Linked DNA regions of Homo sapiens: region 2 is linked to region 1. Evidence: promoter capture Hi-C in human tissues and cell types (Jung and others, 2019). All regions are on one chromosome and are shown on one strand. The core of a region is centred on a gene start or on the middle of the fragment in contact, and the rest is flanking DNA. Distances in the headings are between cores, read along the strand shown. Region 1 holds the start of CEBPE (CCAAT enhancer binding protein epsilon). Region 2 has its middle 6.5 kb from the start of RNF212B.

Region 1 (7,503 bases), core at 5,004-7,503:
ATTGCAGCAAGGTTGGATAGCCTGGCCAGGGGTGACAGTGCTAGGTGTGTGTGTGGTGGTGGTGGTGGGGGGGGCGTGGTGAGCAATAGGGGTTTGGACAGTTTAGGACTCCAGGGTGAAGCTTAGCTCATGGGGCGTAGGGGATGGATCCATTCTATGTGTGGCTTGCCTCTACCTACCCCTAGAACCCTGTTTCTTCTAAAAGGGAAGCAAATCTAAGGGAAAAATCTAGTCTGTCCCTGGACCTAAAATAAATACATAAATAAATAAATAATAAAAGAGAAGCAAGAGGCTACAGCTCTGTGGTGGGTCTTTCCCTATCAAGAAGCCTGCCCCTTCCCAGGCCCTGGGACCTTTCCATTGCTCTCTGAAGTCAGAATTGATGGCCATTTTGATAAAGTTAAGTTGTAGCCATTTTCCTCTGAAAACCCACACCCTCTCCCCTTGGGGAGAATTTCTCATATGCCACTGAGGTTTTCTGAGGCCAGGCCAGGCCTGCTTATGGAAGCAGCTGACAGAGGTCAGCCAGGGGTTCTGTCCAGCTTGGGCCACTCCCATTTTGGAGCAGCTCATGCTGAGTCGGGAGGAGGGGTCTGTCTGCGGGGGGTGGGGGGTGCTGGTGAGGGTGATGGGAAGTGACTGGCCTGTCCGAGAGGAGACGCACAGGCTCTCAGCCAGCCCTGCCTATTGTTGCCTCAGCGTCTCCTGAACAGCCCCCTTCATCCCATAGTCCCCTCACTGGCTTGGAGCACGGCAGGGGGTGGAGGTGAAGAGGCCCCTTTCCACCCACAACCCCAACCGGGATCTTGCAACACTGGGATGGGGGCCCTGGGGGCCCAGGCATGTGGCAATCTGTGTAGAGGGGTGGGGAGGTGTGCACCGAGCAGGGGGGTTGGGGGCAGCTTTCACAAGCCACTGCCTCCGCTGACTGACCTTGGCAGACTCACCTTGGGCAGCTTCCTCCCTCTGCAGTGTCTCCCCACAGTCTGTCTTCTCCTCTGCAGCTTCCCTGTGGCCTAAGATCCTGTCTCTCAGCTCAGGAGTCTCATTCTGCTCCCCAGTTCTGCTCCAGAAAGAAAAGTGGGCCTGAGCTGTGGGCGCTGAAGCAATAGGACTGCATGCGTGTGCTGTTTGGACCTTGATTTGCTGGTTTTCAAACGTTATCGAGTCCCCGGTCCTGGTGCCTTTCCCCAGGCAGGGTTTGGCTAACTGCCCTTCCCTGGGCTCCTTTCTGTCATCTCCTTCCCCAGTGGGGACAACCTTACTGTGGTAAAGGTGCCAGGAGGACCAAGGGGCAGGGAAGCTGAATCCAGGGGCAGAGAGAACCCTGCTCTCCACCTGCCCCGGCTTCTTAGGCACCATCCTCCTTGACAGAGGGAATGAAAATAGTCATTTGCAACCCCTGCAGCCCCATTCTGGAGGGAAGGTGCATCTTTTTCTTACTTATCCTCTCCTTCCTTCTTTCATTCAGCATCTACTCCTGGCTTCCTTTCTCTCGGTCACCTTAGGGCTTTTGCATTTACCCTTCCCTCTGTTCACCCTTACACTCAAAGACATACCTGCCTCCTTCTCAAAATTTTTGAAGTGTCAACTAAAATGTCACTTCCTCAGAGATACCTTTCTCGGCCACCCCAGCTAAAATAGCCTCCCTACCTGTTGGTTTATGTGGTTTCCCCAATGGGCTATTCAAATGGAGTAAGCAGGAGAAGTTAATTAAGGTGCTTTATGAAGATGTGAACCAACAGTATCTGGGGAAAGTTCCTGGAGTGGTGAAGTCCCCTGGGCTAGCCCAGCACGGGGGGCGCCTGAGGGCCAGGAATCCTTTGGGAGGGACTGTGGAGAGCGCCGGTCAGCAGGGGGCTCCCACCACTCTCCTCCTGCCAGTCTCACCCCCACCCCATGAGAGGCTGGTTGATGTAGGGAGGCATCCACCTGGGGACTGTGTAGGGTGATGAAGGGTGGAGAGGGTTCTGGAGGGGCAAAGGAAGACATTCAGCACACTTGTTTATTGACTTTTTCTTCCTACTCCTTCTGCTGAGAACTTGTCTCATTCCTAGAAAAGATACTCAACAAATACTTGTTGAATAAGTTACGTTGGCCAAAACCAATTGAGGTCAGATTGAAAGCCTCTTTCAGGAAGTGTGCCCTCTGGCTCTGACTCACACCCCTGGAATATGATCTGATGCAGAGGATTGGGATGTGTTCAGCTGCTGCACGTCACGCTGGGATCACAGTGGGGAGACGGGGATGTGACTCCCCCAGACTGGGTGCCAGTCAGGAAGGCTCCACTAGGCACCGGCCCTGAGGACCTGACTGGGTGAGCGGGGGCCTGAGAGGAGAAGCAATTCAGAGCTGTGGGAACAAAGCCTGGGCTTCATGCTGAAGCAACCCAGGTCCCATCACCCAGAACCTTGAAAGTAAGTCAAGGGACAGTGGTCTTGAGCTGAGAGGAGGAAATCCGGAGGTTGAGTCATTTACCATGTTCTGTACAAACCCCCCTTATGCAACCTATCCCCCTGGGCTGAAAGGAAGGTGTGAGGATTCTCCCAGGTGCCCACAGAGACTGGTACCTCCCCTCCTTCTGAACTCAGGAAGCTCCAGTCGGTCCCTCCACTGAAGGTTCAGATCTCTCCCTCCAAACCAGACCTGGGGCACGGGCCTCCAGGACACAGAGGTGCCCGAGAGACACAGAGGCAAAGGCAGGAAAAGGACTGAGTCCTGGGCAAGGTAGACATGCCGCACACGGATGCCCGAGGTGTGGGAGGGCTCTACCGCTGGAGATTTGAAGAAGGGAGAGAGATCTGGGATGATCCAGACACCAGTCTCTCACCTTCTCAGAAAATTATTCCTTGATGTCTGACTCAGCCTTTCACAGCATTGGCTTAGGAGAGACTTTAAGAAGCCCGTAATCTGTCCCTGGGTCCCTGACACTGTTGGGCACTGTTCTTTATTGAATGTGATTCATGTGACACTCGTACTGAGGATCTGTGAGAAGAGTGTAGCGTGGAGTAGAGAGACAGGTACCACGTACTGAGGCAGCAAAGGGACTCAGTGAGTGTCAGGAGAAGCCTCTTACCCCTCTGGCCCTCAACTGCTTTATCTGTAAAATGTGGCTCACCCTACCTTGCTGGTCTGAGGGCAGAGCCCACCAGATGATCTCTTGAGGTCTCTCCCAGCACATCTTGAGATCTGCGATTTTACAGAGCCAATTTTGGTTCTACCTCTAAACAATCGTGTGACTCCAGGTAAGTCCCTTCCCCTCTTTGCAGCCTGTTTTCTTACCTGCAAAATGAGTTTAGATGAGATCTCTGAGGTCCTTTCAGTTCCAGCAAAATGGAGGAATCATAATAAATATGCTTATTACATGCAAAGTTTTCTTTTTCTATGAATATAACAACACTACGGAGTGGGGACAAATATTGCAACCATTTTGCAGATGAGGAAACTGAGGCACAGAAAGACATAATGGCTCAAGGCTCACAGCTAGTAAGTAGCAGTGTAAGATTCAAACTGAGGCTCTTAATTATTGTACCATTCTGTCTCTTAGGCTGTAGTCCAATGCAAAAGAAAATGCTGTTTCGAATGATGGGTTTCCCTGGCACGGGCAGATTGTCATCCTCCTTCTCACTACCAGTGTTCTCATACACAAATCCGGTCTCCAGGTCTTTCCCAACCGATTCCTGTCCCATGCACTCAATTCTCAAGCTTTAGGGAACTGGAGCCTCAGGGATGAGGGACAAAGGATGGAAATGAATGGGTGGGAGCAGCGTGGGGAGGGTGTCCATCTGGTAGACTGAGGCTTTGGAAATGGAGAGAAGAGATGGCGGGCTGGATCAAGGGACCATAAATATGGCAGAGCCATCAGGAATTTTCCCATGGTCACCTGGGGCAGGAGCTCCCAGACCTATACCTCAAGGTGAGAGAGAGTGGGCCTGGGATCAGCAGGCCTGGGCATGAAGGACTGTGTGGTGCCGGGATCTCCCTACAAGCTGAAGATCTTTGTTAGCAGAGCATACAAAGGTGCTCCAGGTCCTGTGGGGGGCGGGGATGTGCCTTCAGCTCACAGAAGGGGGTGATGGGGGATGTCAGGGAGAGAAGAGCAGAGTGACAGATACACGGCCTGGCTGTGTGGTATATTGGGGGTGGGCTGTGGACAGCATGTCTGTGTTTCCACATGTCCACTTGGTCATGGAAACAAGAGGTGCAGACCTAGCCACATGCATCCTCTGTCCCCAGGGTCCTCCATGACACACACACACACACACACACACACACACACACACACACAGCCAACAGTCCCAACACCCAGTCACAGTGCAACTTTATTCAGCCATATAATCATTATGCTGGGTCCTGCCCTCTTTGCCACCCCGGTTGCCATTTATCCATGGTCTATGTCTCAGGGTTCTAGGCCCCCAGCAGGATGGGGGTCCGCAGAGTTAGGCCGTGCCAGGGAGCCTGGTGCCCACAATCCACCAGCCAGCCTCAGCTGCAACCCCCCACGCCCTTGATGAGGTTGGCCGCCTCAGGAATCTGGCGGAAGAGGTTGCGGAGGGTGTCTAGCTCCTGGGTGAGCTGCTCCACGCGGCTGCGGAGGCGCTCGTTCTCTGCCATGTACTCCAGCACCTTCTGCTGCGTCTCCAGAATGCGCCTCTTGGCCTTGTCTCGGCTCTTGCGCACGGCGATGTTGTTGCGCTCCCGCCTCAGCCGGTACTCAAGGCTATCTTTGTTCACTGCCTTCTTGCCCTTGTGTAAGGGGCCAGCCGGGGAGGGCGCCTTCAGGAGGGGACTGCAGGGGGGTGCGGCAGTGGCCAAAGGGGCCTGGAGGGGAAGGCACGGAGAGACGGAGAGGTGAGGGCTGGCCAGGAGGCAGAGCGGAGGCGGGGCGGGAATCTCGGCAGCCAGGGCACACTTGATGCGTCAAAGGAATACAGGACTCAGAGCCAGCTCCTGTCTCTCAGGTCAAAACTATCATCGCTCTGCTTCTGGGAGATGGTGACCCAGATGCACAGGGTCCTCTGCTTGAGACCAAAACTCCCTTTCATGTTCTCACACTTTCTTTCTTTCTTTTTTTGTAAAGATGGAGCCTTGCTATGTTGTCCAGGCTGGTCTCCAACCCCTGGCCTTAAGCGAACCTCCTGCTTTGGCCTCCCAAAGCGCTGGGATTACAGGCATGAGCCACGACACCCAGCCAATGCTCTCACACTTTCTGAGTACACTTTCCCTCAATCTGCCTTGAGTCTCCCGTTCTATGACCAGTAGACATTTCTCACAGAAGCAGGCGGCAGAGAAACAAGAGGAGGGGGCATGGTGAGCAGCAGAGAGGCTGGCGGTGGGGGCCTGAGATCAAGTAGGTCAGCTTGCCACAGGGGCTTTGGGTGGGGATTCAGGGTGGGAATGAATTCACAGAGAAGGAAAGGGAGGTCATGGTGGGGTGTGAACACAGAGGACTGTGGGTTGGGTCCATTTCACAGAGCGACACCAAGCACAGGCTCAGCAGCATGAGCCGGGGCACAGGGTCCTGTCCACACCAGCCTCTCCAGCCCCGGGCAGGAGGGAGGAGGGCTGGCCTGCTCTTACCTTGAGAACGCGCAGAGGCTGGCCGGGTGCTGCCAGAGTTGGGGGCAGGTGCATGGCTGTCTGCCCACAGTGTGCCACTTGGTACTGCAGGGGATTGTAGCTGCCTCGGCTGGCAGCTCGGCTGCCCTCTGGCCCCCGGGGCTCCTCCTTCACCGCCACAGCCCTGGGGTCGTAGCTCCCTGGGCTGCTGTAGATGCCAGGCCCCAGCGCCTTCCTGTCTGGGCCGAAGGTATGTGGAGGGTAGGCAAAGGGCCGAGGGTCAGGCGGCAAGTAGTGGGGGAAGGCAGGGGTTCCGGGGCCCTTGAGGCCTCTGGCCTCAGGCGCTGGCTTCACGGCAAAGAGATCGGAGAGAAGCTGCTCTTCCCCAGACTCGATGTAGGCGGAGAGGTCAATGGAGGCCTCATGCTCACACATGTCCCCTAGCTCCCCGGGCCCAGCTCGGCCCCCTGAGAACTCGAGTGGCTGCTGGCCACCCCGGGGCTCACACTCGTAGTAGGTCCCGTGGGACATGGCCGGCCCGCCCCCTCGGCTCCCCGCCCCCACCTGCTCTTGAGGCACCCCTTGGGGTGCTCCGGCTGCCCTCTCTCTACCTCCTCCTGACCTGGGCCTGCCCTCTCTCGATCTTCTGCCCTAGACCTGCCCTCTGCAGTCTCCTCTGTCACCCACTCCTGTGTGGCCTCTCTCCCCCCTCTGCTCTGCTTCCTTTTCCTTCCTCTGTAGTCAATGCCTCTCTTCTCTTCCCTTTTTTCCCCTCTCTCCCCTTGGGGTGACTCAGGGAGGGGCAGGACACACCCCAGAGGGAGAGATGTAAGCCTTAGAGAAAGGCGACTCCTGGCCTATTCAGCAGTTGGGGACACTCCTTGGTCAGGGACCAAGCCAGGGTTCTGGAGATGCCCGAAGCTGATGCTTCTGGGAATGCCTCTCCACTCCCTGCTGGGAGGCCAGGGGACTCCAAATCCTCGCAGAGGGCAACACCCCACTCTGAGCAACCTCCTCCCTCCGACTTTGAAAAAGTTCTATGCAGAATGAGGTTCCAAGTTAGAGTGAAGAGAGAAAGCCCTCTTCCAGTGCCTACCCTCAGTTGGGTCTCACCTCCTCCCTTGACACGCCTTCCTCTGGCTCTCCCCTGCTGCTGGGCTCCACCTACCCCCAAGAGAAAGTTTCTTTTGTAGCCCCACCTCCCAGAGCATTCTCTGAGTGTAGGCCAGGGTTTGTTTTTTGAGGGGTCTAGGGAGTAGTGATAGGTCCTAGGAACAAGCTCTACACGCGAGCCTGCGTGGTGCTCCAGAGCATGCTCATTTGCTAGGTTTTTGCACAGGAGCTGTGCAATAGCCCACATGTTAGTGCGTTTCCAGCCCTAGCTACCTCTAGCAGCCTGGTACACTTCCTAACTCCCTGGGCTTGGCCAAAGCACCTGGTCAGGACTTGGGCCTTGCACCGCAGGCCTAGGCAGGTTGCTGCCCTCGGAGTAGACAGCCATAATCCTCCGGTGGCTCCAGCACTTCTCTCTTCCAGCTGCTCTGTGCTGCAAGAGGCTCAGGCTGGTGCTTCGCCCCTCACCCTGGGCCTGAGGCTCTGCCTCTGGTTTCCTGTGCCTGGGCTGCAGGGCTTAGGAGCTTGCTGCAGCTCGTTTGCTGTCTTTCCTTTTGCATGGCCGCTCTCTGATCTCCAATGCGTGTCTCTTGGGTCTACTTCCTCTTGTGAGGTTTGAGAAGCCTCTTATGTCATCACCTCTTCCTGGGGCTCTGTTTTAGGGTCTCCAGGAGAAGCCCATGGCTCCCTCTCTGCAATTCTTTGTTCTGTGCTGGCTCTCCTCTTCCCTTTTCTCTTTCCTTTGGGAACTCCCCACTACCTCCTTTCAGAGACACCTGCTCTGGTACTGCTTTTACCTGTTGAATTTCATCTCCAAAAGGGATTGTAGGT
Region 2 (6,776 bases), core at 4,180-6,679, 110 kb after region 1:
TACAAAATTAGCCAGGCGTGGTGGCACATGCCTGTAATCCCAGCTACTCAGGAGGCTGAGGCAGGAGAATTGCTTGAAGGTGGTGGAGGTGGAGATTGCGGTGAGCTGAGATCGTGCCATCACACTCCAGCCTGGGTGACGAGAGCGAAACTCTGTCTAAAAAAAAAACTCATCAGGCTCTTTTTAGAAATTGTTTATCTGATAATAAAATTCATTTGGAAATGCAAATGAGTTAGAATGGTCAAAGCAACTCTGCAAAAGAACAGGCTGGCCAGGCGCAGTGGATCACAGCTGTAATCCCAGAGCTTTGGGAGGCCAAGGCAGGAAAATCACTTGAGGCCAGGAGTTTGAGGCCAGCCTGGCCCACATAGTAAAACCCTATCTCTACCAAAAAAAAAAAAAAAAAAAAAAAAATTAACAGGTGTGGTGGCATGTGCCTGTAGTCCTAACTATTTGGGAGGATGAGCAGGGAGGATGAGCAGGGAGGATCACTTGAGCCCAGGACTTCCAGGTTGCAGTGACTTGTGATCACATTAACGCAATCCAGCCTGGGTGACAGAGCAAGACTCTCTAAAAAAACAAAAAAACAAAACAAAACAAAACAAAAACACAAGAAGAAGAAAGAACAAAGAGGATCAAGACTACATCATTTCAAGACTTATCATAAGGCTACAGTAAGTGACAGTATGGTATTGGCATCAAGACAGACAAATCAATCAGTGGAACAGAATAGAGCATGCAGAAATGGGCTTGAATATGTATAGAACACTGATTTTCCTTTTTATTTCGGTAAAATATATAACATAAAATTTGCTATTTTAACCATTGTTAGTGTGCAATTCAGTGGCATTAGGTACATTCACAATGTTGTACAATCATCATCTCTATTTCCATAATTTTTCATAACCACTAACAGAAACTCTTCACCCATTAAGCAATTACTTCCTATCTCTCATACCCCTAGTTCCTGCTAACCTCTAATCTACTTTCTGTCTCTATAAATCTGACTGTTCTGGATATTTCAGTGAGATTATACAATATTTCTCTTTTTGTGTCTGGCTTATTTCACTTAGCATAATTTTTTCAAGATTCATCCATGTTGTAGCATGTATCAAAACTTTATTTCCTTTATGGCTGAATAATATTTTATATATATATATATATATATATATATATATATATATATATACCACATTGTTTATCCATTCATCTACTAATGGACATTTGTGTTGTTTCTATCTTTTGGTTATTGTGAATAATGCTGGTAGGAATATTGGTGTACACATATCTGTTTGAGCCCCTGTTTTAAATTATTTTGTATACACCTAGGAATGGAATTGCTGGGTCACATGGCAGGATAGTTCTATTTTTCACTTTTTGAGGAGCCACCAAATTGCTTTCCAAAGCAGGTGCATCATTGTACATTCCCATCAGCAATGTACAAGGGTTCTGATTTCTCCATATCCTCCTAAAACATATTTTCATTTAGAAAATTCTAGCCACCCCACCACATGTGAAATGATATTTCACTGTGGTTTTAATTTGCATTTCCCCTATGACTAATTATATTGAGAATCTTTTCATGTGTCTGCTGGACACTTCTATATCTTCTTTGTAGAAATGTCTATTCAAATCTTTTGCCTATTTTTAATTGGGTTGTTTGACTTTTTTGTTGTTGAGTTGTTCTTTTTTTTGAAACAAGAGTTCTCACATATTTATTACTGAACCCAGACTACTAGCGCACAGCAAATAAAGAAACAGAAAAACTATATTCCCAATAAAACATGCCCAACTGTCCAGATAGTGGTGACATTTTTAGCTTGATATGGTAAGATGGTTATGAGCTTGATACTGCATAAATATGTGTGCCATCTCGTGCACAATTCCTTATAGATCCAGCTTGAATCTTCTCCAATGTCTCCTTTTAAAGTTGTACCTGATTTTATTATCAGTTTTCATCCAAATCCACTGAGGAATGGGATGATTTTGCTTTTGTTTCTTGGTTAGGAATTGCTTAATACTGAAAGTCTTGTGAGAAGACATGATGAGAAGCGGAGTCGAATACACACCACAATGGTGGAAAAAGGAAGAGAGAGAGAGTTGTAGTTCTTTTTATATTTTGAATATTAAAACCTTATCAGATATATGATTTACTAATATTTTATCCCATTCTGTGGGTTGCCTTTCACTTTCTTGATAGTATCCTTTGTTGCACAAAAGTTTTTAATTTTAACTAAGTCCCTTTTATTTATTTTTCTTCTGTTGCCTGTGCTATTTTTGTATTTAAAAAGCCATTGCCGGCCGGGCGCGGTGGCTCACGCCTGTAATCCCAGCACTTTGGGAGGCCGAGGCGGGTGGATCACGAGGTCAAGAGATCGAGACCATCCTGGCTAACACGGTGAAACCCCGTCTCTACTAAAAATACAAAAAATTAGCCGGGTGTGGTGGCGGGGGCCTGTAGTCCCAGCTACTCGGGAAGCTGAGGCAGGAGAATGGCGTGAACCCGGGAGGCGGAGCTTGCAGTGAGCCGAGATCGCGCCACTGCACTCCAGCCTGGACGACAGAGCGAGACTCCATCTCAAAAAAAAAAAAAAAAAAAAAAAAAAAAAACCATTGCCAAATACAAGGTCATGAAGATTTTCCCCTATATTTTCTTCTAAGAGTTTTAGAGTTTTCACCCATACATTTAGGTCTTTGATCCATTTTGAGTTAATTTTTGTATATGGTGTAAGGTAAGGATTCAACTTTATTCTTTTGCATATGGACATAGTTTTCCCAGCACTGTTTGTTGCAGAGACTGTTCTTTCCCCTATTCAATGGTCTTGACACCCTTGTCAAAAATCAACTGACCATAGATGTGAGGGTTTATTTCTGGATTCTCAGTTCTATTCTGTTGGTCTATATATGTCTATCCTTATGCTAGAAACACACTGTTTTGATTACAGTAGCTTTGTAGTAGGTTTTGAAATTGGGCAATATGAGTCTTCCAAATTTTTTCCTTTTTAAGATTGTTTTGACTATTCTAAGTTTTTTGAAATTTTATATTAATTTTAGGGTGGATTTTTCAATTTCTGAAAAAATAGTTGGAATTTTGATAGGGATGACATTGAATCCGTATATAGCTTTGGATGCTATTGTAAACAATATTAAGTAGTGTTCTATGTACAAACAAGTCTTGTGCCTCTCCTTGATTAAATTTATTCCTAAATATTTTATCCTTCTTGATGCTGTCACAAATGGAATTATTTTCTCTGGGCAATCAATTTTTGACAAAGGCAATTTAGTTGAGAAAAGTTAATCTTTTAAAAAAATGGTGCTGAAACAATTGGATATCCACATGCAAAACACACCCACATATGCACATGCAAACTTTAATCCATACCTCACACCATGTAGAAAATTAACTCAAATGAATCATATACCTAAATGTAAAATCAAAATTACAAATCTAGATTTCTAGAATTTTTGAAGAAAATTTCCAGAGGTACCCCATTTTCCTTTCAGAGTAGAAGAAAAGATAAGAATATTTAAAGAGCTCCCCCTCTCCCCTCTCCCCTCTCCCCTCTCCCCACGGTCTCCCTCTCCCTCTCTTTCCATGGTCTCCCTCTGATGCTGAGCCGAAGCTGGACTGTACTGCTGCCATCTCGGCTCACTGCAACCTCCCTGCCTGATTCTCCTGCCTCAGCCTGCCCAGTGCCTGCGATTGCAGGCACGCGCCGCCACGCCTGACTGGTTTTTGTATTTTTTTGGTGGAGAGGGGGTTTCGCTGTGTTGGCCGGGCTGGTCTCCAGCTCCTAACCGTGAGTGATCTGCCAGCCTCGGCCTCCCGAGGTGCCGGGATTGCAGACGGAGTCTCGTTCACTCAGTGCTCAATGTTGTTGCCCAGGCTGGAGTGCAGTGGCGTGATCTTGGCTAGCTACAGCCTCCACCTCCCAGCCGCCTGCCTTGGCCTCCCAAAGTGCCGAGATTGCAGCCTCTGCCCGGCTGCCACCCCGTCTGGGATGTGAGGAGCGTCTCTGCCTGGCTGCCCATCGTCTGGGATGTGAGGAGCCCCTCTGCCCGGCTGCCCACTCTGGGAAGTGAGGAGGGCCTCTTCCCCGCCGCCATCCCGTCTAAGAAGTGAGGAGCGTCTCTGCCCGGCTGCCCATCGTCTGAGATGTGGGGAGCGCCTCTGCCCCGCCGCCCCATCTGGGATGTGAGGAGCGCCTCTGCCCGGCCGCAACCCCATCTGGGAGGTGAGGAGCGTCTCTGCCCGGCTGCCCTGTCTGAGAAGTGAGGAGCCCCTCCACCTGGCAGCCACCCCATCTGAGAAGTGAGGATCCCCTCCGCCCGGCAGCCGCCCTGTCTGAGAAGTGAGGAGCGCCTCCGCCCGGCAGCCGCCCCGTCTGAGAAGTGAGGAGCCCCTCCGCCCGGCAGCCGCCCCGTCTGGGAAGTGAGGAGCGTCTCTGCCCAGCAGCCACCCCTCTGGGAGGGAGGTGGGGGTCAGCCCCCGCCCAGCAGCCACCCCGTCCGGGAGGGAGTTGGGGGGTCAGCCCCCGCCCGGCCAGCCTCCCCGTCCGGGAGGGAGTTGGGGGGTCAGCCCCCACCAGGCCAGCCGCCCCGTCTGGGAGGGAGGTGGGGGGTCAGCCCCCGCCCGGCCAGCCGCCCCGTCCGGGAGGGAGGTGGGGGGGTCAGCCCCCACCCGGCCAGCCGCCCCGTCTGGGAGGGAGGTGGGGGGGGGGTCAGCCTCTGCCCGGCCGCCACCCTGTCTGGGAGGTGGGGGTGCCTCTGCCCAGCTGCCCCGTCTGGGAAGTGAGGAGCCCCTCTGCCCGGCCACCACCCCATCTGGGAGGTGTACCCAACAGCTCATTGAGAACGGGCCATGATGACGATGGTGGTTTTGTGGAATAGAAAAGGGGGAAAGGTGGGGAAAAGACAGAGAAATCAGATTGTTGCTGTGTCTGTGTAGAAAGAAGTAGACATAGGAGACTCCATTTTGTTCTGTACTAAGAAAAATTCTTCTGCCTTGGGATGCTGTTGATCTATGACCTTACCCCCAACTCTGTGCTCTCTGAAACATGTGCTGTGTCCACTCGGGGTTAAATGGATTAAGGGCGGTGCAAGATGTGCTTTGTTAAACAGATGCTTGAAGGCAGCATGCTGGTTAAGAGTCATCACCACTCCCTAATCTCAAGTACCCAGCGACACAAACACTGCGGAAGGCCGCAGGGTCCTCTGCCTAGGAAAACCAGAGACCTTTGTTCACATGTTTATTGGCTGACCTTCCCTCCACTATTGTCCTATGACCCTGCCAAATGCCCCTCTGCGAGAAACACCCAAGAATGATCAATTAAAAAAAAAAAAAAGAATATTTAAAGAAAAGAAAATTTTATCTGGGTTTGGTGGCTCATGCCTATAATCCCAGTACTTTAGGAGGCTGAGGTGGGAGGATCAGTTGAGCCCAGGAGTCTGAGACCAGCCTGGGCAACATGGTGAAACCCCATCTCTACAAAAAAAAAAAAAAAAAAAAAATAGAAAAATTAGCCGGGTATGGTGGTGCATGCTTGTAGTCCCAGCCACTCGGGAGGCTGAGTTAGGGGAATCATTCGGGCCTGGGAGGTTGAGGCTGCAGTGAGCCATAATCATGACACTGCACTTCAGCCTGGGCAACAGAGTGAGACCCTGTCTCAAAAAAAAAAAAAAAAAAAAGAGTTCTCAAAACTCAACAATAAGAAAATAAACAACCCAATTAAAAATGGGTAGGTTGGGCATGGTGGCTCATGCCTGTAATCCCAGCACTTTGGGAAGCCAAGGTGGGCGGATCACCTGAGGTCAGGAGTTCGAGACCAGCCTGGCCAACACGGTGAAACCCTGTCTCTACTAAAAATACAAAAATTAGCCAGGCCTGGTGGTGTGTGCCTGTAGTTCCAGCTACTCAGGAGGCTAAGGCAGGAGAATTGCTTGAACCTGGGAGGCAGAGGTTGCAGTGAGCTGAGATAGTACCACTGCACTTGCACTCCAGCCATGTATACCATGTGTACGAAGGAACACTCAAAAAGCCCAGAACACTCAAAACCAAGATATTTTCTAGGAAAACTGTTGGTCTCTTTTTTTTTTCAACTGTTCAAATTTCTATTAAGTTGTTGGTTTTCTTTTTTAAAAAGCTCTTTGTATATTAAAGCTATTAGCCCTTTAGGATTTAAGTTGATTTTTTTTGTAATTTGTCACTTTGTGCTTTACTTTTCGTGTGTGTGTGTGTGTGTACATGCAAAAAGTTTTTTTTAAAATTACTTAGTCAAATTTGTCAATATTTTCTCTCTTCTAGATTTTTGGATCCTAGGAAGATTTCCTGCACACCTAGGTTATAAGAGTATTTACTATTATTTTCGTCTGGTACCTGTCTGTTTAGATTTCTGATCCATTTGAAATTTATCCTGGTAAACAGTATGAGAAACAGACTCAATTTTATATTTTTTCAGATGGCTATTCAGTTGTCCCAATTCTATGTATATAAAAATTCAATTCCCCATGCACACTTACCAATTAAAATTTATTAACGTACTTGGTTCTATTTCTAGACTTGATTCTGTTTCATTGGTCTACACGTTTATGCACCAACACCACACTTTAAATTACAGACGTTTTATAATATATTTTAATATTGGATGGGGCTAACGCCCCACTCCACATGGCACTAAAATATTTTCCAGTGAAAACTTTTATTTAAGTAGAATTAAGATTACTCAGGCATGATGCTACATGCCTGTAATCCCAGCTGCTGGGGAGGCTGAGGCAGC

The links. Contacts are between HindIII fragments. The study calls those that stand out against the background at their distance.
Region 2: a contact is called between a fragment that was not itself captured here and the fragment with the promoter of CEBPE in region 1, in 3 of the 25 tissues and cell types used here (mesenchymal stem cells, mesendoderm cells and thymus).

The regions. Positions count from the first base shown.
Region 1 is chr14:23,113,002-23,120,504 of GRCh38, forward strand. CEBPE (CCAAT enhancer binding protein epsilon) reads right to left here and starts at 6,254. Exons shown (of 2, transcript NM_001805.4): 1 at 5,581-6,254; 2 at 4,305-4,821. The coding sequence starts at 6,090. The coding sequence ends at 4,486. RefSeq lists enhancers at 881-1,599, 1,765-2,964, 6,893-6,972, 7,053-7,503. The HindIII fragment of the contact is 12,579 bases long and covers 1,914-7,503 here.
Region 2 is chr14:23,228,074-23,234,849 of GRCh38, forward strand. It overlaps a transcript of RNF212B not described here and the pseudogene RPL39P2. Among named protein-coding and RNA genes, the nearest start is that of RNF212B, 6.5 kb to the right of the region's middle. The HindIII fragment of the contact is 6,657 bases long and covers 2,102-6,776 here.